Linked DNA regions of Homo sapiens: all the other regions are linked to region 7. Evidence: promoter capture Hi-C in 16 types of primary human blood cells and fetal thymus (Javierre and others, 2016). All regions are on one chromosome and are shown on one strand. The core of a region is centred on a gene start or on the middle of the fragment in contact, and the rest is flanking DNA. Distances in the headings are between cores, read along the strand shown.

Evidence for each region. Contacts are between HindIII fragments. The CHiCAGO score rates a contact against its expected background, and 5 or more counts as called.
Region 1: a contact is called between the fragment with the promoter of CYP4V2 here and the fragment with the promoter of LRP2BP in region 7, in 4 of 17 cell types (total CD8 T cells, activated CD4 T cells, naive CD4 T cells and 1 more). The highest score is 8.3, in total CD8 T cells.
Region 2: a fragment that was not itself captured here is called in contact with the fragment with the promoter of LRP2BP in region 7 in 1 of 17 cell types (fetal thymus); the score reaches 5.9 in fetal thymus.
Region 3: a fragment that was not itself captured here is called in contact with the fragment with the promoter of LRP2BP in region 7 in 1 of 17 cell types (fetal thymus); the score reaches 11.2 in fetal thymus.
Region 4: a fragment that was not itself captured here is called in contact with the fragment with the promoter of LRP2BP in region 7 in 5 of 17 cell types (fetal thymus, non-activated CD4 T cells, total CD8 T cells and 2 more); the score reaches 6.6 in fetal thymus.
Region 5: a contact is called between a fragment that was not itself captured here and the fragment with the promoter of LRP2BP in region 7, in 1 of 17 cell types (endothelial precursors). The highest score is 8.6, in endothelial precursors.
Region 6: a fragment that was not itself captured here is called in contact with the fragment with the promoter of LRP2BP in region 7 in 2 of 17 cell types (M1 macrophages and M2 macrophages); the score reaches 7.4 in M1 macrophages.

What each region holds. Positions count from the first base shown.
Region 1 is chr4:186,189,940-186,192,996 of GRCh38, forward strand. It overlaps CYP4V2 (cytochrome P450 family 4 subfamily V member 2), which reads left to right and starts at 1,628. Exons shown (of 11, transcript NM_207352.4): 1 at 1,628-2,098. The coding sequence starts at 1,885. FLJ38576 (a long non-coding RNA gene) reads right to left here and starts at 1,551. Exons shown (of 1, transcript NR_046264.1): 1 at 1-1,551. RefSeq lists a silencer at 1,425-1,954. The HindIII fragment of the contact is 5,614 bases long and covers 1-2,989 here.
Region 2 is chr4:184,729,404-184,732,519 of GRCh38, forward strand. It overlaps CENPU (centromere protein U), which reads right to left. Exons shown (of 13, transcript NM_024629.4): 2 at 1,517-1,565. Among named protein-coding and RNA genes, the nearest start is that of CENPU, 3.1 kb to the right of the region's middle. The HindIII fragment of the contact is 870 bases long and covers 1,249-2,118 here.
Region 3 is chr4:184,476,995-184,480,355 of GRCh38, forward strand. IRF2-DT (IRF2 divergent transcript) reads left to right here. Exons shown (of 1, transcript NR_186573.1): 1 at 1-310. Among named protein-coding and RNA genes, the nearest start is that of IRF2-DT, 3.9 kb to the left of the region's middle. The HindIII fragment of the contact is 7,393 bases long and covers 1-3,361 here.
Region 4 is chr4:184,644,953-184,648,106 of GRCh38, forward strand. The region is part of intron 2 of CASP3 (caspase 3); the gene reads right to left. Among named protein-coding and RNA genes, the nearest start is that of CASP3, 2.9 kb to the right of the region's middle. RefSeq lists an enhancer at 1-44. The HindIII fragment of the contact is 2,145 bases long and covers 421-2,565 here.
Region 5 is chr4:186,034,763-186,037,879 of GRCh38, forward strand. No RefSeq gene overlaps it. Among named protein-coding and RNA genes, the nearest start is that of TLR3, 33 kb to the right of the region's middle. The HindIII fragment of the contact is 7,458 bases long and covers 1-3,117 here.
Region 6 is chr4:186,064,725-186,068,177 of GRCh38, forward strand. No RefSeq gene overlaps it. Among named protein-coding and RNA genes, the nearest start is that of TLR3, 2.7 kb to the right of the region's middle. The HindIII fragment of the contact is 6,011 bases long and covers 1-3,453 here.
Region 7 is chr4:185,394,642-185,397,641 of GRCh38, forward strand. LRP2BP (LRP2 binding protein) reads right to left here and starts at 1,283. Exons shown (of 9, transcript NM_001377440.1): 1 at 138-1,283. ANKRD37 (ankyrin repeat domain 37) reads left to right here and starts at 2,200. Exons shown (of 5, transcript NM_181726.4): 1 at 2,200-2,309; 2 at 2,509-2,661. The coding sequence starts at 2,283. RefSeq lists silencers at 1,406-1,595, 1,816-2,185 and an enhancer at 1,716-1,785. The HindIII fragment of the contact is 1,591 bases long and covers 765-2,355 here.

The DNA of each region.
Region 1 (3,057 bases), core at 378-2,877, 800 kb after region 7:
TGCCCAGGCCGAGACTCACTGCTGCCCAGAGCAATCTCCCTTCTCTCCTTCTGGAGGGGAGGGGTTGTATGTTACCCGCCTGGTTTTATCCACAGAGGTTAGCAGAGACTGATACAGACAAACCCTTTTTCTTTCTAATTTTAGATTCAAGAGCACATGTGCAGGTTTGTTAAATTTGCCTGACGCTGAGGTTTGAGTTTCTATTGATCCCCTCACCTGAATAGGGAACACAGTACCCAATACACAGTTTTTCAACCATTACTCCCCTTCCTTCCTCCCCCTATTTTAGAATCCCCAGTATGTAGACAAATTGTTTACTTTTATAGCTGTAATTAACCTTATTATAGCTCAGCCTCAACCCTTTAGAGAGGAGGAAACTAAAGCCCATGAGACTTGCTTAAAGATACTAAGTGAACATATTTATTTTTTAAAGTGTTAAAGTGATTAAACAATGTAGACGTGAATGAAATAAAAAGCGTAAGTTCCCCATCTTCATTCCCACTCCATAGAGCTGATCAGTATTTTTACTTGCAGACATTAGTGGAGCCGTAGAGAAAGAAACCTTTTCTCCAAAAGAAGGCATTACTTTACACACTCCGTTCTGCAACTTGTTTTGTTCACTTGCTATTTCACGTCAGCCCATGCAGATGACTTAAAACAAATTCAAATGGAGAAAAGCCTTAGGCATGTTTTTCTCTGCACTAAAGAGGCCCTGCAGGTGGCTGTGGCCAACTTATGCAGTGGCTTCGAGTGAACGAACGTAATTAGTAATTAAGCAAAGCGGGCATCCAGGACATTCAGTTTCATCTTCCTGGCACTTTAGTGTTTAGGAAGGGCCTGGCCTCTCGGGGAGCGACACTCCTCGCCCGGCCACTTTGTAAGAAGCATCGAGCGTGGAAAAGGGGCTGGGGTCAGCACTGGGGCCCTCTGCCGGGAAGAGAGACTGGCGGCCAGCACACGCGTCTCCCCAGGCTGAAATGGGGCACCCTCTCGCGGCCCTTCCCTCCCTTCCCGGGCTGGGTGGCAGGTCTTGGCTCTTCTGCGAGTACCCCGCGGCTGCGGTCTCCCGGCACCCGCTGAGCAGCCTCGCCCGCCTTCCTCTCCCACCCGCCCCTGCGTGCTCTCCGGGGCTCCGGCTTCCTCGGTCTGGTGCCTGGTGCGTATTTTGGAAAATACCTGGCTCATAACCACCTCATTGAGCTCCCAGTGTCCCAGTGGGCCAGCGGACACACACGGGTAGCTGACTTCCCTAACGTGTCCCCAAAGCCTCCCTGGATTACAGCGCCCGCTGCTCCATGTGACCCCGCGGGAGCCAGGACGCGCCCCGCCTCCCGGGGCTGCAAGTTGCGCAGGGAGCGAGCGATGCGCAGCAGAGCTGGGCTCCGAGCCGGATGCGCCTTCCTTTCCTCTCCAGAGCAGGCTGCCCGCCCGCGGAATCCCGCACGTAGAGCAACCTCGCAGCACCCTCAGAACAGCCCCGCTGGGGCGCGCCGGGCTGCCGCGGTGACCTTTCCGACGCCCCTGACCCCGCATCCGGAGGCGGCCGGAAGTGTCGCCGGCCTCCTCCCGGCGCAGCCTCCGGGCCTCCAGTGCAATCACTACGCCCTGGGGCCCGGAAACCGTTTTCCGGTCTTTCGCTTTCGGCTGGGGCGTGGAGGCCGCGGTGCTGCGTAGGCCGGGCCGGGCGCAGGAACAGCCCCGTGGCGCCCTCTCTGGCCGCCGCCCGGGCGGGAAACGTCGTTCCGGGGACCGGGCGACCCCGCAGCGGGGAGCGCGCCAGGTCCGCGCGGGGAAGTGGGCGGTGTGCGGCCGGCACCGCCTCGCACCACGCCCCCGCGGGCCCGCACTTTCCCGGAGTGCACCCCGCGGCCGCCAGCCGGGGCGATGGCGGGGCTCTGGCTGGGGCTCGTGTGGCAGAAGCTGCTGCTGTGGGGCGCGGCGAGTGCCCTTTCCCTGGCCGGCGCCAGTCTGGTCCTGAGCCTGCTGCAGAGGGTGGCGAGCTACGCGCGGAAATGGCAGCAGATGCGGCCCATCCCCACGGTGGCCCGCGCCTACCCACTGGTGGGCCACGCGCTGCTGATGAAGCCGGACGGGCGAGGTAAGGGCCGGCGCTCCTCCTGGAGCGCAACGGGGTCCGCAGCCCCGTTCCCACCCTCCGATCAGCCAGGAACCCGCTGCTTGTGGCGCTGGCCGCAGGAGAGAGGAGCCTGTCACCCTGTGGAGAATGCACTCCCAGTTCTAGTCGTTGCCCCTTGGCACCCGCCGACACTGCTAGTGCCCCATCCCAAAGTGAGCATTTTCTTTGTGTGTAGCACAGGATGCGGTATTTCCAAACCCCTGCCCTCGGTCTTTTCCCACCTCACCGCTGCTCAGCTCTCAAAGCCCTGCCGTTTCCTCCTGCCTTGGCTTGGGAAGCCTTAGGAACAGAAGCTCCCTGGGAGCACAGAGCGGTTTTAAACTGGCCAACACCTTAACGCCCAGAGCCGCCCTCCTCTCGCTGCCACTTTGGAAAATAAGAGACTAGAGATTCACTGGACGCTTCCTCCCGGCATCACAAGACTTGACTGCTGCTTCAGTTCCCGCTTGACCTTCATACTTTAGCCCTTTAAAGGATGTTACATAATAACAATTAAGAGACGGCAGGGCCTTCAGGCAGACTTCTTTGGAGGGTGTCAAACGCCTTGTTTATTAAAGAGTGAATTTTTTAATTAAAATCATGTTTTAAAACAGAGATGGACATTTTATTGATGGAAAAAAATCACGTTAAGTTAGAAAGCTCTCAAAAGTACCTGGTATTTACAACTCCCTGTCAGGGAGGGCGAACTCGATCTCAGAGTTTTATTTTCATCAGGGATTACGTTGAGGTACCCAGAAATGAGAAGATTTGCCCAAAATGGCATATTTTAAAATTGGCCCAGACCAGAACCCAGTTTCCTCTGGGATTATTTGTTAGTAATCGTTTTACAGGCTGAGCATTAACTAACTCCAAAGCTTGAAGGACTTTTTCTCATTTTCACTTGTTTTCTCTAATAAAAATAATGCTGTAATTTCAACTTC
Region 2 (3,116 bases), core at 434-2,933, 660 kb before region 7:
ACTACTAACTCAGCCACTGTCACATGAATGCAGACAGTAACCACACAGAAAAGAATGAGCATGGCTGTGTTCCAATACAATTTGACTTTTGAACACTGCAATTTGAATTTCATATCATGTTCACATATTATGACATAGTCTTTTTATTTTATTTCAACCATTAAAAAAGGTAAAAACCATTCTTAGCTTGCAGGGATATACAAAAACAGGTGGCAGGCTAGATTTGGCCCATGGGCCAGTTTGCCTAAACCTCTGACCTAGGGAAAGTGATGGGTCCTGTCTCCGGAAATATGCCCATATACCCAAAAGTTCATAAACAGTTTTAAGGGTACACATGTGTAAAAACTCCTGACTAAAGGACACCAGGGTTTAGAGTTCAATATACTGATACACCCATGAAGTCTGCTACCCCAAATCTAATGAAACATGAAAACATACATAAAATGAGAAAAACTTTCATGGTAGTTCCAGAAAATGTGGAAGGGTACTATTAACAGATACAAAAATAAGAAAATTCTGGAAGGTATAAAGGAGGTCAAATAAAATTGGCAAACCATATAAAAACTTGACCATTCAGATGCCCCCAGTGAAAGAATCATTCCTGGAGTGCTTGGGGGTGGAATGTGGAGAGAGCTGGCAGGTCTTCCAGCCCCTCCCAAGGCATAGGGGGCCTCCACCAGGGACTGCCTTGCAGAGGGAAGGACAGGAAAGCTGAATCCATTCCAGGCACTCTGGGCTTCCAGCTAAGGCTGGAGCTTAGAGAAATCCCTCCGAGGCACACTGTACTTTGGCTACCAATGGCAGGGGCAAGGCAGGACAGCTGAGAGAAATCCACCCAAAGAACCCGTGAAGTAATGCCGGGGTGGGAGCAGAGCGCTGAGCAAAACCCTGCAGGGGGATCCCAGGGTTTCCCAGAGGGGAAGAGAGCTATCGTCTGCAGGCTGGGGTTAAGGACTATGCAGGACAGAGAAAGCCCAGGGCAGAACAAGCAGAAGGAACTCCTTCCGGGGTGCCTGGCACTGTCATACACTGTTAATGTGAGATTACAATGTCAATCACACAAGCCACTGGAAAAAAAAACTGGAATTAGCTATCAAGAACGTTAAAGAAATGCACATGCCTTTAACATACATTTATTCTAAGACTCTAAAGAAAAGTAAACCTGTAATGTGAACTAAGTGGAGTATCATGAAATCATAAAACAATTCTTGAAAAGTACAATGAGGAGAAATGGCTTTAAGTGAAAAAAGCTTACAGCACTGTACAATTTTTACATGAAGTCAATTATCTAAACGAAAATAAAACCAAACTCGGCTCAGAAATAAAGGAAATTCTAAAACATTAACAAAAGTCATTTTATCCACTATACCGGAAAAAGTGTGAGGAAAATGAACACACTTTTTCACTACAATAAACATTGAACTTGCCAAGTGAAGTCTACAAAACTGAGGTACCCAAAAAATGTTATTTTGTACTGTCAATTTTGAGAAAACCACAACACAAAAAGGTAACTTACATCTTTCATGGAATGTGTTCTTTCTAAAGTGTTCTTTGAACGTCTTGCGCTATTAAACAGCAAAAAAACACAAGAGTTAGGAAATAGTTAAAATAACTGAGGAAACACCATAGTTATGACCCTTTCCGCGCATTTTTACCAAAAAAAAAAACAAGAACCCATATTCCACAAATTTATTTTTTATAGGTCAAATCCTATCACCAATGTATAAAATAACATACCTCTCCCCCTCAGGGACATGGAAAAGTTGGAATCCTGCTGTTAACTTTTTCCCTGAGGCCTTAATCAATCAGCAGTGATTGACTTTCTCTGCACAGCTGAACAAAGGGGAGGTAGGCTAACGCTAAGCCCCGACACCTGCTCCATCCGGTGCCTGGCTCTCCTACGTCCTTTTCTCATTTAATTCTAACAGTCCTATAAGGTAGAAGTGAATCCCATGTTACAGATGTGTGCTTGCCCACAGCAACACGGAGCCAGGAGGGAGACAAGCCTGCATTAAAATTTACATCAGTTCAAATCCAGGGCCTGCCCTCGACCTCCCTTGACACTCTCTCAGTTGGACCACAGCTTCAAATGATAAAGTTGTATATATATCTTCAACAAGCTTCAAGAAAACAAATGTAACAATGGTGACAAGAATAAAAACGGGAAATAACAGTGGCAGGATTATATATCATTATTACTAATAATAGTGCCAGCAGTCAGTGAATATGTACAGACTATCCTCCACCAACCAGGCATCGTACAAGGGTACGGGGGGGATACTCCAGGAGAATACAGTACATAATTAGACTTTAAAATATGCCATGCAGATTGCAGCCATATTTTTCTCATTTGTAGACAGCAAAATCAGCTTAGTCTAAACCAATGTTTTAGTATCCTTTTATCTGATATAATTTCAAGCTCACAGAAAAGTTGCAAACATAGCACAAGGACCTTCTGTATGCCCTTTACTCATGTGCTCTGTGTGTGTGTGTGTGTGTGTGTGTGTCTGGAGATACTGTGCACTTCCACCCCTAAATACTACAATATGTCTTTCCTAAGAGGGCATTATACTGCATATTCATGGTACAATTTCTAAAATCAAGAAATTTAACACTGATACCATAATCTAATCTACAGTCCATACCCAAATCACATCAATTGTCCTATAATGTCTTTTAAGATTGCCAGGCCAGCATTTTTAAAAAAACAAACAATAAAAAAGGAAAATATAAAATGAAGCATTGCACTGGATATACTATGTTCACAAGCCTTTTGTTTTATGTGTGGATGTGTGCACACGTGTACTAAGTGTGATGTAAAACATCATTACTGTGAATCACAGTTAAAAAAAAAAAGTTAGAAAACTGTTCAGAGCGGTGGTTCCCAGACTTGAGTGTCATCAAAATTCTCAAGAGGGCTTGTTGAACAGGTTGCTTGGCACCACCCCAGGAGTGTCTGATTCAGTCCCTCTGGGGTGAGGTCTGGGATTCTGCATTTCTAACAAGTTCACGATTTATTTATTTAATTCATGAAACCTAAGGAAGCAGGTAAGACAAGTATTGGTTTTATGGCAATTTTATAGATGATGATTCCGGGATTCAGAAAATTTAAGTGA
Region 3 (3,361 bases), core at 125-2,624, 920 kb before region 7:
TGTTCCTTTTTTTTCTTAATGCCCTACTTCGTGCAACATACATCCAATCAGTCATATCCTATTGACGCTACCCCTAAATATCTCTGGGCCTGGCCCGTGCTCAGGGCACTGCCTTCATTCAGTTACTGCACTTGCCTGCTGCCTGTGCTCCTGGTCTCCTGCTTGGACTCCCCCAGGCCAGCAGCCACACTACTGCCAAAATCCAGTCGAAAATTAACTTCAGGTAAAGCACAATTCCAAACCTAACACTGCCCCCCTCAAAAGCCTCTCTGTAGCCTTCAGAATAAAGACCATATTATTTGACAAGACACATAAAGTCCATTGTAATCTGGCACCAAACGACCTTTCCAGCCTCATCTCCTGCCATTGTGTCCCACAAGCCCTACATCCCTCCCTTGCCAAACCAGCCTCCGCTCCTTTTTGTCAAACAACAGAGCTGTCCTCTTGTTCATTGTTTTATCTTTAGCATGGTGCCCAGCACACAGGCACTGAAATACTTGTGAATTAATAATTACTTGCTCTTTTCATCAGGCTCTCATAAAATATTTTAGACTTGATCAGAGCCTTGTTTTATATTTTAATAGCTTTTTAATATAAATGTAATTAATGTTTCTTGTACAGAATTTGGAAGATGCAAGAATGGTGAGAGAAGAACATAAGCCACCTGACATCTCACTAGTCAGGAATAGACCTGTGGATATTTTTATGTATTTCCTTCTAGTGATCTTTCTAAGGGACCGTTTCCAATCCGCATCTCCTCTGTCTGTGTGTAGGATTTAAGAATGCTGACTGTGCAGGCTGCTCTCCACGATGCCCATGTGACAGCCTGCTGTCCTATTCTAGTTCTTGGCCGGTTCCTCGTCTGCTGCCAGCCCCCTAAATTATGGTGTTTCCAGGCATTCTATCCTCAACCCTCTTATTTTCTCATTCTACATGCTTTATCTTTGGGTGTTCTCCTCCACGCCCAGGGCTTCAGATATCACTATTTGCTGATGACTCCAAAATCTGTAACTTCTGAGCTCTGACCACATTAACTCCTACACATGTCTCAGGTGCAACAAATTATACATGTCCCAAGTCAGAGAGAACATCTTTTCCACAGCCTTGCACTGTTCACTTCATTGATTAGCTGGGAAACTGGGAGGACTCACAGACTGCCCCCTTTCCTGAGTCCTGGGGCCTCCCTGAAGCATGGGTGTTGCTTGCAATTTTCCAGGCCCCTAAACTCATAAAACATAGACAGAATGAATTTCTGTTCTTAGGCCCTTGATGACATGTCACTGCAAACCAAAAATGTACAAATGAACCAAAACAGCCACATGGTACTGATATACACAGTCAAGAAGTATCTTAGCCCTTTGATGAGATGCATATAGTAATAAATCTCTGTGGAAACTCCAGCCTTTTTGGAAGCCTGGGTAAGAAAGTAGGCTCAGTGGCTCACGCCTGTAATCCCAGCACTTTGGGAGGCCGAAGCGGGTGGATCATGAGGTCAGGAGATCGAGAACATCCTGGCTAACACGGTGAAAACCCGTCTCTACTAAAAATACAAAAATTAGCCGGGCGTGGTGGTGGGCGCCTGTAGTCCCAGCTACTCGGGAAGCTGAGGCAGGAGAACGACATGAACCCGGGAGGTGGAGCTTGCAGTGAGCCGAGATCACACCACTGCACTCCAGCCTGGGCGACAGAGCCAGAGCGAGACTCCATCTCAAAAAAAAAAAAAAAAAAAAAGAGTAACCTTTGTCATACTGAGGAAATCTGACCAAACACTTCAGTCTAACGTGAAAAAAGTTGAAGGGTCTTTTATAGTGAAACTAGAGTCATCTCCTGGATGAAGCATGTTTGTATTTCACCTGTGGGATGGAATATCCTAAAAGATCTGCCTGGCTGCCTCAGGACTCATTTCTTTTCAGGGGAGTCGGGTGCAGACAATATTACTTGAGCACAATAGTGCCGGATCTCTCCTTGAGTGGATCTTAACTAAGGAAGAAATGTAAAGACACATTCAAAGTTGACCCCTTTCAAATGGGTTTTTAACTTAGTTTCCTAAAATTGAAACAAAGTTTCATAAAATGATCATTCAAATAAAATCTGTTGAGTGCTCAGGAACATTTCCCAGCACTAGGGATACAGCAGTGAACCAAATGAATGAAAGTGCCAGCCTTCTAAGACGTTTTCTTACAGTCTTGTAGGTTGACATGTTGATTTCCACTGTGGCATCCCAGTAATGGCACCGACATCATCTCCACCTGTAATCACAGCCTTCAGAACTGTACATGCAACTTAGGAATGTGTAACATGAAGGCATATAAATGAAAACCTAAGTATTTATAGCTATGATTTAATCAGGAGCCCCAGGTCTGCAAGCAGATGCTCAGTTTTCTCCCCAGAATCACTGGGACCACTTCTGTCTTGGCCACTGGAGCTCCCCTCCAAGGTGCTGCAATTCAGGAGGTTAGAAAGTCATGGAAAACGAGGGTTCCACCCTTGCCAGAACAGTTGCCAATACAAAAGCCACAGATTAACAGTCCTGAGTTGCAAAGAACATTATTGTGAAGTCCAAGTTGAATAAACACACAGCCAAGTTAAATTTTTTGCGGCAATAGAACAGCAATGGGATTGAAAAAACCATCAGTCAAAGTTCAAAGGTCATTGGCCTCAAGTTGAAAAATTCTTGAGCATGTTTGACTGTTACTTTATGTAATGGTTCCTTCCATTTTACAAGAAACTAGGAAGTGGGGGTCATTTTGTTGCAACTATTTTCTGAAAATCATGAGTTTACATTGAGTAATACATTGCTCAGTTTTGGGTGATACTCATTCTGCCCTGTTCTGAAGGGAAAACACATTCTCTAAAATTGCCTGGATTTCTGTGTGTGTCTGTGTGTGTGTGTGTGTGTGTGTGTCTATGTCTGTGTGTGTGTGCATCTCTGTGTGTTTGTGTGTCTGTGTGTGTGCGTGTGTGTGTGCGTGCGTGCGTGTGTTTTTCCTTTCCCAAAGGAAGGCTTTCAACTTTGAAAACTTCATGAAGTGTTTTTTGGCATAATTTCCCAAATGGCTGTGGAATATGTGAAATATTCCTTATTTCTCTATGGTGACAAACTATAAAGTAGTCCTTTTACCTTTAAAGACAGAGGGACATGGTGTCTATAGCTTTGCCTTGACGTTCTGCAGAGCAATTACTATAATAGTTTCAGGTATTGAAGATATTTTAAAGAATAAATTTCAAATTTGTAACCTAAATTTAGGAGACTACTTGGTTCACTGGTCATCTGTATATTTGAAGAAATTTTTAATATTGTTATATTTGTTTTCTTATTTTAAAATATTTAATTGTCAGCCAGGCATGGTGGCTCATTCCT
Region 4 (3,154 bases), core at 243-2,742, 750 kb before region 7:
AAACAACTGTTAGTTTCTGAATCATGTCCATGAATGTAAATGCTTTTAAGAAACATTTACTAGTAAAGATTTACCAAAACAGTAGCCAAAGGATGTGGCGTGAGAGCTGTGTGCAAAGCGCTGCGTGATGACTGTCCCTCTTAATGCTGGCTCATACAGGCTAGGTACTGAACTCAAAGTACAAGCGTATTTTCGTGAGTCCTCCCAATGACACTCTGAGGCATAAGGATCCCCACTGCAGAGTTCAGGTGACTGAGGCTAAGAGAAGTTAATGAACTTTAAAGTCGCACAGCCAAGATTCAAACTAGGATCTTCCCAACTCAAGAGGGCAGACTCCCACTATTCTGTAGACAGCTTAGTACTATATAGGAATGATAACACTTAACTTCAGGGAAGGAAACAAAAATCCATAATCTCAGAAGCTTTAAATAAGACAAAGAAAATAAATAACATGATAGAAAGTTACTGCAGAGATAACAAAATAACATAATGCACTGAATTCTAATGAATGAAAAAATGGCAAAAATGACTATGGCATTTCTGATGCGACTAGGTAGTTTACTTTTGTGTTTTCTTTCCTTTTTTAAAAAAATTTAACAAACTTCGCATGTGGCATTCAATTTACTTCTAAAGTGAAATAGGCCAGACACAGTGGCTCGCGCCTGTAATCCCAGCACTTTGGGAGGCCAAGGTGGGAGGAATGGTTGAGATCATGTGTTCAAGACCAGTCTGGGCAACACAGAGAGACCCCATCTCTATAACAAAGTAAAAACAAGTAGCCTGGCATGGTGGCACACACCTGTAGTCCCAGCTACTCAGGAGGCTGAGGCAAGAGGATTACTTGAGCATAGGAATTGGAGGCTGCAGTGAGCTATGATCGCACCACTGCACTTGAGCTTGGGTGACACAGCAAGGCTGTTTCTAAAAATAATAATAATAAAAGTAAAATAACTGGTTTCATGTTCAGCGTTAGGTATATGTCATTAAAACATATTCCCTGTATCTCTGTGTTCCTCCAAAGGAAAAGTGAAGCCTGTCCAGCAGGACTTCTGGGGAGATTACACTTCTGTCAAACAACTTGAAAAATATCAGGATTATATTTATTACCTGTCAGAGAGGACAAAGTCTCAAAAGCAGTCACGTTTCCAGATTTAGCAAATGAAACAGAAAGAACATCTGTTTCACAATAGTTTGGACAAGAAAAGACTTCAGTTGTGATGTACCAGAGGTTTTATCAAAATCTTTTCCCATCTGGTCTCTGAATTCATTTGAGTACGTATAAGAATTATCAAACTGGCGATTGTAACTGGGCCTGGTGAAGTCAATCTTTTAATATTTGTTATGTAATTAAGGTAAAAATATGAGAACAGGAATGTAAAATCAAATACAGAATACATTGAAATAAGTTCCATTGTACTATACAAACAAACCATCCTTTCCTTTCCTCTGGCAAGGGCCACGTGACCAGGAAGACAGTACAGAGCACTCTCCACTATTCAAAGCCTCTGAGTTTATGACACAAGTTAGAAAGAAGGGCACTTAGTATGTGCAAACGATCTGTCTTCCCTGTGCCAGGTGAAGTCCTAAGATGGTGTTTTTGGAAGGACAAAAGGAGAAAATGGGAAAGCCTTCACAGATCTAAATGATTTGTATGATATAAGTGTAAAATGGAGGATCTCGGATGCCTTTTTATAAAAATTACAGATGACTTTAAAGCCTCAGCACTCCCACCAAGGATGACTACTTTGCAGAATCAGATTCAAGTTTAAAACCGCTTGAAGAAATCCTGCTGTCAGGAAGACTGAAACTGCCAAAACTCAGATTCAGTAGCATTTATTCATTTGATATTTGCACCATAACAATTTACTGAACACCAACTGTGTGCAGAGTACTATACTAGACCCTGAGTGTATCAAGCAGTGGAAGAGACAAACCCTATCTCTATTCAGGGCTTATACCGATGCTCACTGGTATTCAAAAGTGGCTCAACAAGGCAGATGCCAGACCGTGTCCAATACATATCAGGTAGCTTGATTTCATTATTGTAATGCAAAGAAGCTCTACAGGCAACATGTGAAGGTAAGAACAAAACATGCAGAGAAAGAATATTATATAAATCTAAGAATTCTCCCATCTTTGTTTAGGCCCAAACACCAGTGCTTCTTATCTTTGGGGCAGAGCTTAAAGATCTAATAGTAGGCACCAGAAGCAATGTAATATATCATTCATCAAAATAAAGACTGCTTTGTAGGGGGATGAAGCAGTAGGAGATTGTGTTAAACGAGGTTTGAAAACAAAACAGTAAAGAAGCATTATAATTGCCTATATCAGATGCCAGTCTCTTCAAATGGCAAGAGGCAAGGCCTTTATTCAGGATAGCAAAAGCAAATCTGATTTAACTAGGTACAATGTCTAATGTCTCTTACTTTGAACAGGTTTTATTGCCATACTCCAATAAACTGTTCATCCATTCACTAAAATAATTTTCACTTTCAAAAACCTTCTTTTGCAAAAAGGCAAAGCAAAACCAAAGTCCAAGCATCGGGCTGTGATAGAGATGATTTAAGCTTTATATTTCATTTTTAGAGATTATGTAACCACAGCACGCACATTCACAGTGGCTGAGCCCATTTTGATACAGTCTGGTCTAACCACCTTGCCTGGCCCTCTTTCAGCTATCTTGCAGGTTTACATCGTTTCAGTGACTCCGTATGTCACCTCTACCATTTCTTTTCTAATTATTATTTGCTGAATAATCCTAAACCAGGTCTACTTTTTCTAGATAGGGCATAAAAGTAAAAATACAATGGATGGGCATTCACTGTGTTATGCCAGGCCCCGCATTTGGGGCAAGACACTAAGGATACCAAGATAAACCAAGTCCGTCCCTCCTGGAGTTTGCTTGCAAATCTAGCAGGGAAGATAGTAAACAAGCAACTGCAAAGGATATGACACATCTCTCTTAGGGAATGCTGGCTGCAGAAAGAACACAGCATAGGAAGATTTAACCTTAAACTGTTTAATGAAAACAGAAATTTAAGTAGCAGCTCTTCTAATCAAATGTGATGGCGGGAGAAAGGGAGTGCAGAGGTGTTGCAGGCAGACACTAGGTATGAAGGTCAGCATTGCCGTGCAGAAATCGAACCGGTGCTAA
Region 5 (3,117 bases), core at 137-2,636, 640 kb after region 7:
ACTGATGCACACACGGATTCCCAATCCCTCAGGGTACAGATCACGCCAGATACACCCGTGGATTCCTAATCCCTCAGGGTACAGATCATACCTGATACACACTCAGATTCCCAATCCCTCAGGGTACAGATTATGCCTAATGCACACACGGAATCCCAATCCCTCAGGGTACAGATCATGCCTGAAACACACATGGATTCCCAATCCCTCAGGGTACAGATCACACCTGATACACACACAGATTCCCAATCCCTCAGGGTATAGATCACACCTGATACACACATTGATTCCCAATCCCTCAGGGTACAGATCATGACTGATACATACATGGATTCCCAATCCCTCAGGGTACAGATCACACCTGATCACACATGGATTCCCAATCCCTCAGGGTACAGATCACACCTGCTACATGCACAGATTCCCAGTCCCTCAGGGTATAGATCATGACTGATACACACATTGATTCCCAATCCCTCAGGGTATAGATTATGACTGATATATACATGGATTTCCAATCCCTCAGGGTACAGATCACACCTGATGCACACATGGATTCCTAATCCCTCAGTGTACAGATCACACCTGATGCACACATGGATTCCTAATCCCTCAGGGTACAGATCTCACCTGATACACACACTGATTACCAATCCCTCAGGATACAGATCGAGCCTGAGGCACACATGGATTCCCGATCCCCTTGCTGTATCTTCCCTCCCTCCCCAGCCCTCAAGTAGGGAAAGATTTCCTCAGACATATGAGGATACTTTGACAGAAAAAATTTCCAATTACTTTTCTAATTAGCACCTAAACATCCATCCATTTGTGTTATTACAATTAAAATTAAATTTTTATAAAACATTTTACAGGGTTAAAAAAAAGTCTGTTATTTTTCATATAGTAAATTTTTGATAATTCATAAGTATACAATTACCTATCAAGGGCTTGTTCTTATTTTCAAATACAGAGTCTGTATGCTTTTGTACATATTCAGTAGCTATTGCATCGGGTCAGGCACATGACAGGGGAAATGTGGTACCGATCTCTGATATAAGAAATAAGGAACAGGTTGAGCGATGTTCCCAATCCCTCTGCAGACCATCAGTTATCAACTGGTAAAGGCTGGGAATTGATGAGGTGGGCTTGAGCAGCAGCATCAACTCTTCAAGTATTTTACAAGCATCTGAGACCATTGACCATGGACTGTCCTCCAGAGAATTAAAGCTAACTTGTGGCCAGGCACAATGGCTCATGCCTGTAATCCCAGCACTTTGGGAGGCCGAGGGGGGTGGATCACTTGAGGTCAGGAGTTCATGACCAGCCTGGCCACCATGGTGAAACCCCACTCTACTAAAAACACAAAAGTTAGCAAGGCATGGTGGCGGGTGCCTGGAATCCCAGCTACTGGGGAAGTTGATGCAGGAGAATTGCTTGAATCCAGGAGGCAGAGGTTTCAGTGAGCCGAGATCATGCCATTGCACTCCAGCCTGGGTGACAGAGTAAGACTCTATCTCAAAAAAAAAAAAAAAAAGCTAACTTGTTTCTTATGTTTGTCTGATACTCCTAACTATTCCCATTACCAATTCACCTTGGTTGTCATAAACTTACTACTCAGATTCAAATCTCATTTGTGAGCTGATACAGTTTGGATATTGTCCCCTCCAAATCTCAGGTTGAATTATAATCTCCAGTGTTGGAGGTGGGGTCTGGTGGGAGGTTTTTGGGTCATGGGGGTGGATCCCTTATGGCTTGGTGCTGTCCTTGTGACAGTGAGTTCCAGAGAGATTGGTTAAGTGTGTGGCATCTCCTCCCTACTCTCTCTCTTGCTCCTGCTCTGGCTATGTGACCCACCCGCTCCCTCTTTTTCTTCCACCATGAGTAAAAGCTCCCTGAGACAGCCCAGAAGACAAGCAGATGACAGCACCATGCTTCCTGTAAAGCCTGCAGAACCATGAGCCAATTAAACCTCTTTTCTTATAAATTACCCAGTCTCAGGTATTTTTTTTATAGCAAGCCAAGAACAACCTAACACCAGAGCTGAGGCGAATCCAAATCTGCCACTTCAATCAATATCTCAGTCATTCTATTTTGGTGAGCAGGAATATAATGCAGATAAGCCAGAGACTGATGTGGCAAGCAAAACACAAAACTCTAGCAACTGAAATGACACAGCAGGGAAGCAAGCAGAGAACAGCAGCAAAGAGTGCAGGAAGGAATGGAGCAGGAGGAGCTGGAATGAAGACTCTAAATTCAGTTGCTGGGAAGGACAGTGAAATGATGAAGAAAAGCACATATTGGGGGGCAGGGTGGGGAAGAGGACAGGAAAGGAAATGTTGAAGGTAGGCAGATGAGGTCACAGAAGCTGGTCATTCATTCACTTGCTAACCTAGTCACTGACCAAATGAGTGCTTATTTAGAATAAAGTGTGGAAGGTTGCCGTGGGACATGACATACAGGGAACAGAAGGGAAAAGAATGTCATGGGTGACTGGTGACTATCCGGGCCAGTGGCACGGGGGTAAGAATTTATCAAGATAGTTGTAGGTAAAGAAAGGCAGGTTTAATAAAGAAAGTATAAAAATATGTTGCAAGAAGGCAACAGGTAGGCCAGCAGAAGAGGAGCTGACTGCCAGGAAACAAAGTCTTGCAGGGCTGGGGATTTTATAGAACTGTGCTTCTGCTGTGTGCTGAAGAGGGCTACGAGCAGTACTGATAACACCAGGGTTACAGGGAGCTCACTTACCCGTGCCTGGTGAGAAGGTGGGTAGAGGACGATTGAGTTATATTCATAGGAGGACTGGTCCTGGTGAAGAAAGGCAAGCCTACATAACTTATCTGCTTCCTCTTTCTGCTTTCCCTCGGTCCCACCAGCCTGACTCCTTTTCCCTAATTAGGACCCCAAAAAGAACAAAGGGATAAGCTGGTTCAAAGAATTATAAGCTCTTTAGACTGGGAAAGTGATTCTGGAGATAACCTCACTCAATTTGTTGATTGCACACACTAGGGAGCTGATGCACAGGTGTGCCCCTCTAGGCAGGATGTAGATAGGAGAGATGGAGCTGTTAGGAGAGGGAGCAATACTGCAGGGCAGGCGGGAATCACAGATGGAAGCAGC
Region 6 (3,453 bases), core at 164-2,663, 670 kb after region 7:
CGGGAAGGCAGAGGTTGCAGTGAGCTGAGATCGTGCCAGTGCACTCCAGCCTGAGAGACAGAGTGAGACTCCACCTCAAAAAAAAAAAAAAAAAAAAAAAAAAAGTTTAGATTAAACCAGAAGCTCTCTGTGGCAAACATTGGTTTCTTTTTCAGAGGGGAAATTCAACTTCAATACTGCTCAGTGGACATGAGCGAGAGTAGGGAGAGGGACATTTGTTATTTTCTCTCTTAAAGTTGTTGCTGGGGTCTTTGGTTGAGCCTAGTTCAAACTAGCGAAAGCTCAGTGAGCAGAAATAGAAGTGACACTGGTAAGAGGAACTGTATCTTCACTTTAGAGAAAGGATTCAGAAAGAAAAGAAATGCTTCCTAGAATTTCAGCCAATACAGATCAGAACCATGTCCTTTCTGAATGGGGGCTGTGAAGGGACCAGTTGAGTGCAGTTCACAATGACTGTCTATCTGGTGCTCTCAGGGAATTTAACCATTTGTTTAGGTTCATAATATATTCATCGCATTACATACCCATGAGAAGTTTGAATGATGAAAAGGTCTAGCCTTACTTTGGCTTCCTGCCAACCCAGAGAACATTGGTTGGTCCAATCTCCTTGTTCCTATTCTTAAAAAGTAAACTGATACTAATGGCACAATATATGTTATTTGGGTGATGAATACCCTAAAGACCCTGACTCCATCACTATGCAATCTACGCATGGAACAAAATGGCACTAGTACTCCCATAAATCTATACAAATAAAAAAGTAAACTGAGGCACAATACAGTTTTACAGTGCTTCTGAACCAGCAATGATTCATGAACCAGAAGTGGTTGGGGAGCTCCACCAAGGGAACACAAGAGAAGGCTTTTTCAGGACAGAGACAGAAGTAGAGCAAAGACAGCGCTTGACTGTTTACAGTTATACAGCTACCTTATTTGGTCTATCTCATTGGAAAGTCCTTAGTTATATAAGTTTGTTGGCTGCTTCTGATTGGTTGTGTTTACGTTTTCTTTAATATAGGCATTTACAAGATATAGTGCTCAAGTTATTATGTTTGCGTATGTCACTTATGTTTGCAGATCAAGCAAGGTCGAGGTCGCTTATGAGCCCTTGCTGGTTTGGTATGTTCATGGATTCTTCTGGCCTGGTCTCCATTTTAATGTACTTTAACACCATGAATAAAGGTTTACTTCTGAGACTCTAAGAGCCCGTTTAAATTAAACCTATGCATGATATTGCCTCAAATACCCAACAGCTCACTCATAATTGGATATTCATTGCTGGCACAAATGTTAAGTATTACTGAGCAATTAGTTCTCTCTATATTTGGCCCTCACAGAGTGTAATTATTGTATTGTTCAGTACTAATCTGCCTTTTCACATACATGCATTGAGAGGAGAGTCTTCTGTTTGCCCCACAATTTCAATTCTCTATATTTGTGGTTAGAAACTGCGGTGACACAATCCTCATGTCTAAATTCATTCATTCGGGAGATTGTAAAGATGGTTCCGTAAAGCCTCAGTATTGTAGGTGCTGATAATGATGATAATGAAAATGATAAACTTTCCCTTATAAATCTTATAATGAATTGACTAGACTGCCTACAGACTATACACTATCTTTGTCTATAGGTAAAATGGTTGTAATTGGCCGGGCGCAGTGGCTCACGCCTGTAATCACAGCACTTTGGGAGGCCAAGGTGGGTGGATCACGAGGTAAGGAGATCGAGACCATCCTGGCTAACACGGTGAAACCTCGTCTCTACCAAAAATACAAAAAATTAGCCGGGCGTCGTGGCACGTGCCTGTAGTCCCAGCTAGCTACTCTGGAGGCTGAGGCAGGAGAATTACTTGAACCCGGTAGGCGGAGCTTGCAGTGAGCTGAGATCGCGCCACTGAATTACAGCCTGGGTGACAGAGCAAGACTCTGTCTCAGGAAAAAAAAGATTAAAAAAAATAAAAACGGCTGTTTTATTAAGAATTGTTATTAGGAACGGGCAGAGAAGAACAGTGTCTGTGTAGTTCAGCATGTGAGTGGTAATTTGCTAATTATATCTGGCTTGTCACTCCGGTCTCTGTAACTTGCTGTGTTTTGTCAAGTGATTCTTCCAGAAATTTTGTGTATATTATCTTACTAAACTCTCATTAAAGAGGCCCCTCAAATGGAAGAAGGGAACTTAGAGTTTTTAGAATGTGAATAAATTTAAGGGACTTTGGCTTCTAGAATTCTGTAGATCTCTGTTTTGCTGGGAATATACAGCTTCCCATTATTCTGAGATTGGCTGATCTGTAATGCTGTGAAATATCAGTGTTTACTAAATTTGTTATTTTACATTTATGGGCATACATTTTTTTTTAATTCTCTCTCTCTCTTTTTTTGAGACAGGGTCTCCCTCTGTTACCCAGGCTGGAGTGCAGTGGCGCACTCATGACTCAATGCAAACTTGAATTTGCCTGGACTCAAGTGATCCTCCCACCTCAGCCTCCCAAGTAGCTGAGACTATAGGCATGCACCAACATGCCCAGCTAATTTTTGTAATTTTTGTAGAGATGGAGTTTTACCACGTTGCCCAGGTTGGTCTTGAACTCCTAGGCTCAAGCAATCTCCTAAAGTGTTGGGATTACAGGCATGATCCACTGCTCCCAGCCTTAATTCTTTTAAAAAGGGGAAAAATGAGGTTTTTCACTATTGCTCCAATCACCATCATAGCTAAATAAGTTAATGCACATAGTTAAGAAATGTACAGTAGAGAGAAAACAATCTGTGTTGTATTTAGAAACTAGCAAGAATTAAGGACTAATAATATCTGAATATGAACTGGTATTAAGCCCAAACTACTGCATCAGGAGACCATCAATAAAATTTATTTATCGAGAGCCATTCATTAGTCAACCAAAGTCGTGGGAAATTTAATCTGTATAAGGAGTCATAAGGCATAAGGGATAGGTATGAAGGATTGTTGAGATGATGTGTTTTATTTCGCTAATAATGCATATGACACCATTCCAATTTTTTTAAATTTAAAACAACAATCATTTATTTGCTTGCTTCTCAAGCCTGGGTAATCGTGTTTGGCAATGAGACCTTGTTGCATGCTTGCTAATATCCCACTGGTCAAAGCTAGTCAAATGGCCAAGCCTAGAGTCAGCGTGGGAGAAGGCCACACAAGGGTTTGAATTCTGAGGACGAGTCTCTTTCATTGAAGGCCAAAGAAACAGTCTACCTCAGAGGGTTGCTGGGGAGCTATAATGCAAAGAATAAACCTCACCCTGCCTTCAAGGCGCTCACAGAGAAGAAATCTTTTGAATATTAGTGAAGTTTTCCTGGACATCCCAATGGATAGATGTGAGGGACAGTCACGTACTCAGGACATCTGTTTGCTTATGGTGTTATGTTACAGATGTCACAAATGAAAATCAGAGACATGTAGCCCTGAGCCCAGTAACTATAAAGCG
Region 7 (3,000 bases), core at 33-2,532:
CTGAACTACATATAGTGCTCTCAATACTGGAAGATATTTTACACTTCTTAGAAATACTCTTCCCTTCCTGGACTCCTTAGCAAACTCTTACTACTCAAGATTCAGCCCACACATCTCTCATCTATTCGGTCACTTACTCATCATCCAACGTTTTTTTTAACACTCGCTGTAAATGGCATCCTCGTTCTGGAAACGCATCTACCAGCAATTAAAACATGTAGAATTAGCACTGCTTAGGAGAACGCCTATAAAATATGCATCTTAGATCATCTTCCGTTTTAGAAAATTGATCCCACCTGCTACACGCCTGGTGAAACTCCAGTTACTTGCCAGTAAGATATTGTCCCCCAAATGTACTTATCCTGTTTTTGTGCATTATAAGCTTTGTTCAGTTTATAGTTTCTAGGCCCATTACTAAAGTCAAGTCAGATATCCAGCTGAGATACAACTTTTTTTTCTGAAAACAATGTGAGCAATGGACAGGTACGCTGTGATTAAAGGGAGAAAAGCTGTAACGACTCCCCAAATTTCCTTTCCTTATGAAATTTACGTATGTAACAGGAAGTTAAAAAATAACTACCACTTAATGCATACTGAACAGAATCTTGTTTCAAAGAAAAGATATGAAATATGGAGGCACTTTCACCACACAAATATCCCACTACATATGCTAACTGCAGTATTTATGTTCAAAACTGTAAGAACGTGTCTGATACCCTTTATTAGTTAGGAATTCCTGAAAATGAACTTCTGTGCAAACCTGAAGCTTCAACACGTGTTTTAAAAAGCAGTGCTTATTGAATTGATAAACAAAAGCGAAACTGGCAATATCAACGTGTGCTCACCTCACAAATCTGACAACAGTATCTCTACACTGCCGTTCTTTAAACATCATTAAAAGATATTGTGAATAGTTTAAATATTAAAAATGTGGAATATAAGAACGATTCTATATATTTGAACACACATTTATATTCAAATATTCATATGAATAAAAATGCTTAAAACTACCCCTTGGGTAACTAAGTATAACAACATAAACTTGCGATTGCAAATTTTATGGCTCTTACTACAAAACAAAAAGTAGAATGAAAAGACCACTTATCTTTAGAGGACAAGCATGAACTTGTTTTCTAACAGCATAACAATAAACGTATTTATTTCTCCGAGCTTTCAAAGGCATCAACAGAAGGGAATCACTAAAAATGTAGGGGAAAAGAAACACTCGGCTGGAGCTTTGGTTTCTAAGCAGATCCTTCTGGAAAGACGCTTAGGGAGAGTCTAGGGAGCAGCTCTGACGTCAGTAGCTGCCATCGGAAGTCAGGTCATGTTCTACAAAAAGCAGTGACGCACGCCCGACAGCACCCGCGGGGCCGGACAGCGGCTTCACCAGCCCCGCGGGTCCGAATCGCACGCGGCCGGGTCCGCTCTCCCGGGAGGAGAGCCCGGCGTGGACCAGCGTGACGACCCCAGCGTGCTGCGGCCTCTCCCCGAGGGCCCCTCCACAAGGGTCCCTGCGCGGGCCGGGCTCGGCCGTTGCCACTCGGGACAGCCATCCCCTCGAGTTCGCGCTCGCCGTCCCCGCCTTCACCTCCCGGGTTGGGAGGCGGGCGACTGCGCGCGAGGTAAAGGAACTTGCGTTCCCCGGCGCCGAGGCGGCAGCAGCGCAGTGCACAGCGGCTTCTGAAGGCGGCGTCGACGGGGAGCTGCGCGTGGCTCCCAGTTTCCTGGTTACGTGCGCGCCGGCAGAGCCAAAACCTGCAGCCGAAACTCCCGCTTCTCCGTAAGGATTAAAGGGCGGGCGCACTACCGGGAGACGTGTCAAACTCAGCGCGCCTCATGGCGGCCGCGGAGCCCCACCCGCTCCTACTCCAGTCCTCTCACGCCCACTGACTTACCCTGCGCACGCGCGCTGAGGCTCCGTGGGGCCGCCGCGGGCCCCGCCCCGAGGTGGGAGGGCCTGACGCATCCACAGCTGGCCAATCGGCGGATGGCCTCGCGCGCCCGCCCCCTCCCCCTGCCCCCGGCGCCGGGCTCCACGTGCCAGTGTTTGTGTACGTGCGGCCGTGGCGGGGCTGGACAGGGTCCGGGTCGTTGAGGATTAGGCTGCTCGGGCGTAACCGGAGCTGGGGCGCGGCTGCCAAGGGCCGGCCCGGAAGTCCCAGCGGTCTTTAAATTCTCCCGTGCTAGGGCCAGCCTGCGCATTCTTACCTGTCGGGGTGCGGCGAGTGTCTCACCTCTCTGCACTTCCAAGGACTCTTGTCATCTGCCTTAGGCGGGAAATGCTGTTGCTGGATTGCAACCCCGAGGTGAGATTCGGGCTCACAGAGCCCGAGCTTTTGTCCTGCAGGCTCAAGCTTCTAGATTCGTCTTCTCGTTAATGCGGGGACGGACCACTGGGCGCTGCCTGGTCAGAGCTGGTTGTGAAGGGCGGGGAGGTTTCCAGCCCGGAGGGGCGCGGGACTGGACAAAGGTGGGAAGGGTGCTGGATCTGTTCTCTTCCTGCAGGTGGATGGTCTGAAGCATTTGCTGGAGACAGGGGCCTCGGTCAACGCACCCCCGGATCCCTGCAAGCAGTCGCCTGTCCACTTAGCCGCAGGAAGCGGCCTTGCTTGCTTTCTTCTCTGGCAGCTGCAAACGGGCGCTGACCTCAACCAGCAGGTAACTAGGTAACTGTTGCTGTGTACAGCCGTCCCCTCCAACCCAGACACACACAAACATTTCTCAGACGCCAAGAGTTGTTTCAGCTGTTAAAAACATGTCTATAGCAGCGATGTCCAACAGAAATATAATGCAAGACACAGATGTAATTTAAGAGTTTTTTTCCAGTCTTGATGTGAGGACATGAGAAATTTGAAGTTTTTAAGTAGCCACATTAATAAACGAAACATGAAATTTTAGTATTTGACCCAATTTGTCCAAAATGTTATCAGTTCAATATGTAATCAAAGCAATTGCTGATTAGATATTTTACACTTTCTTTTATTCTGTCTTCACAAT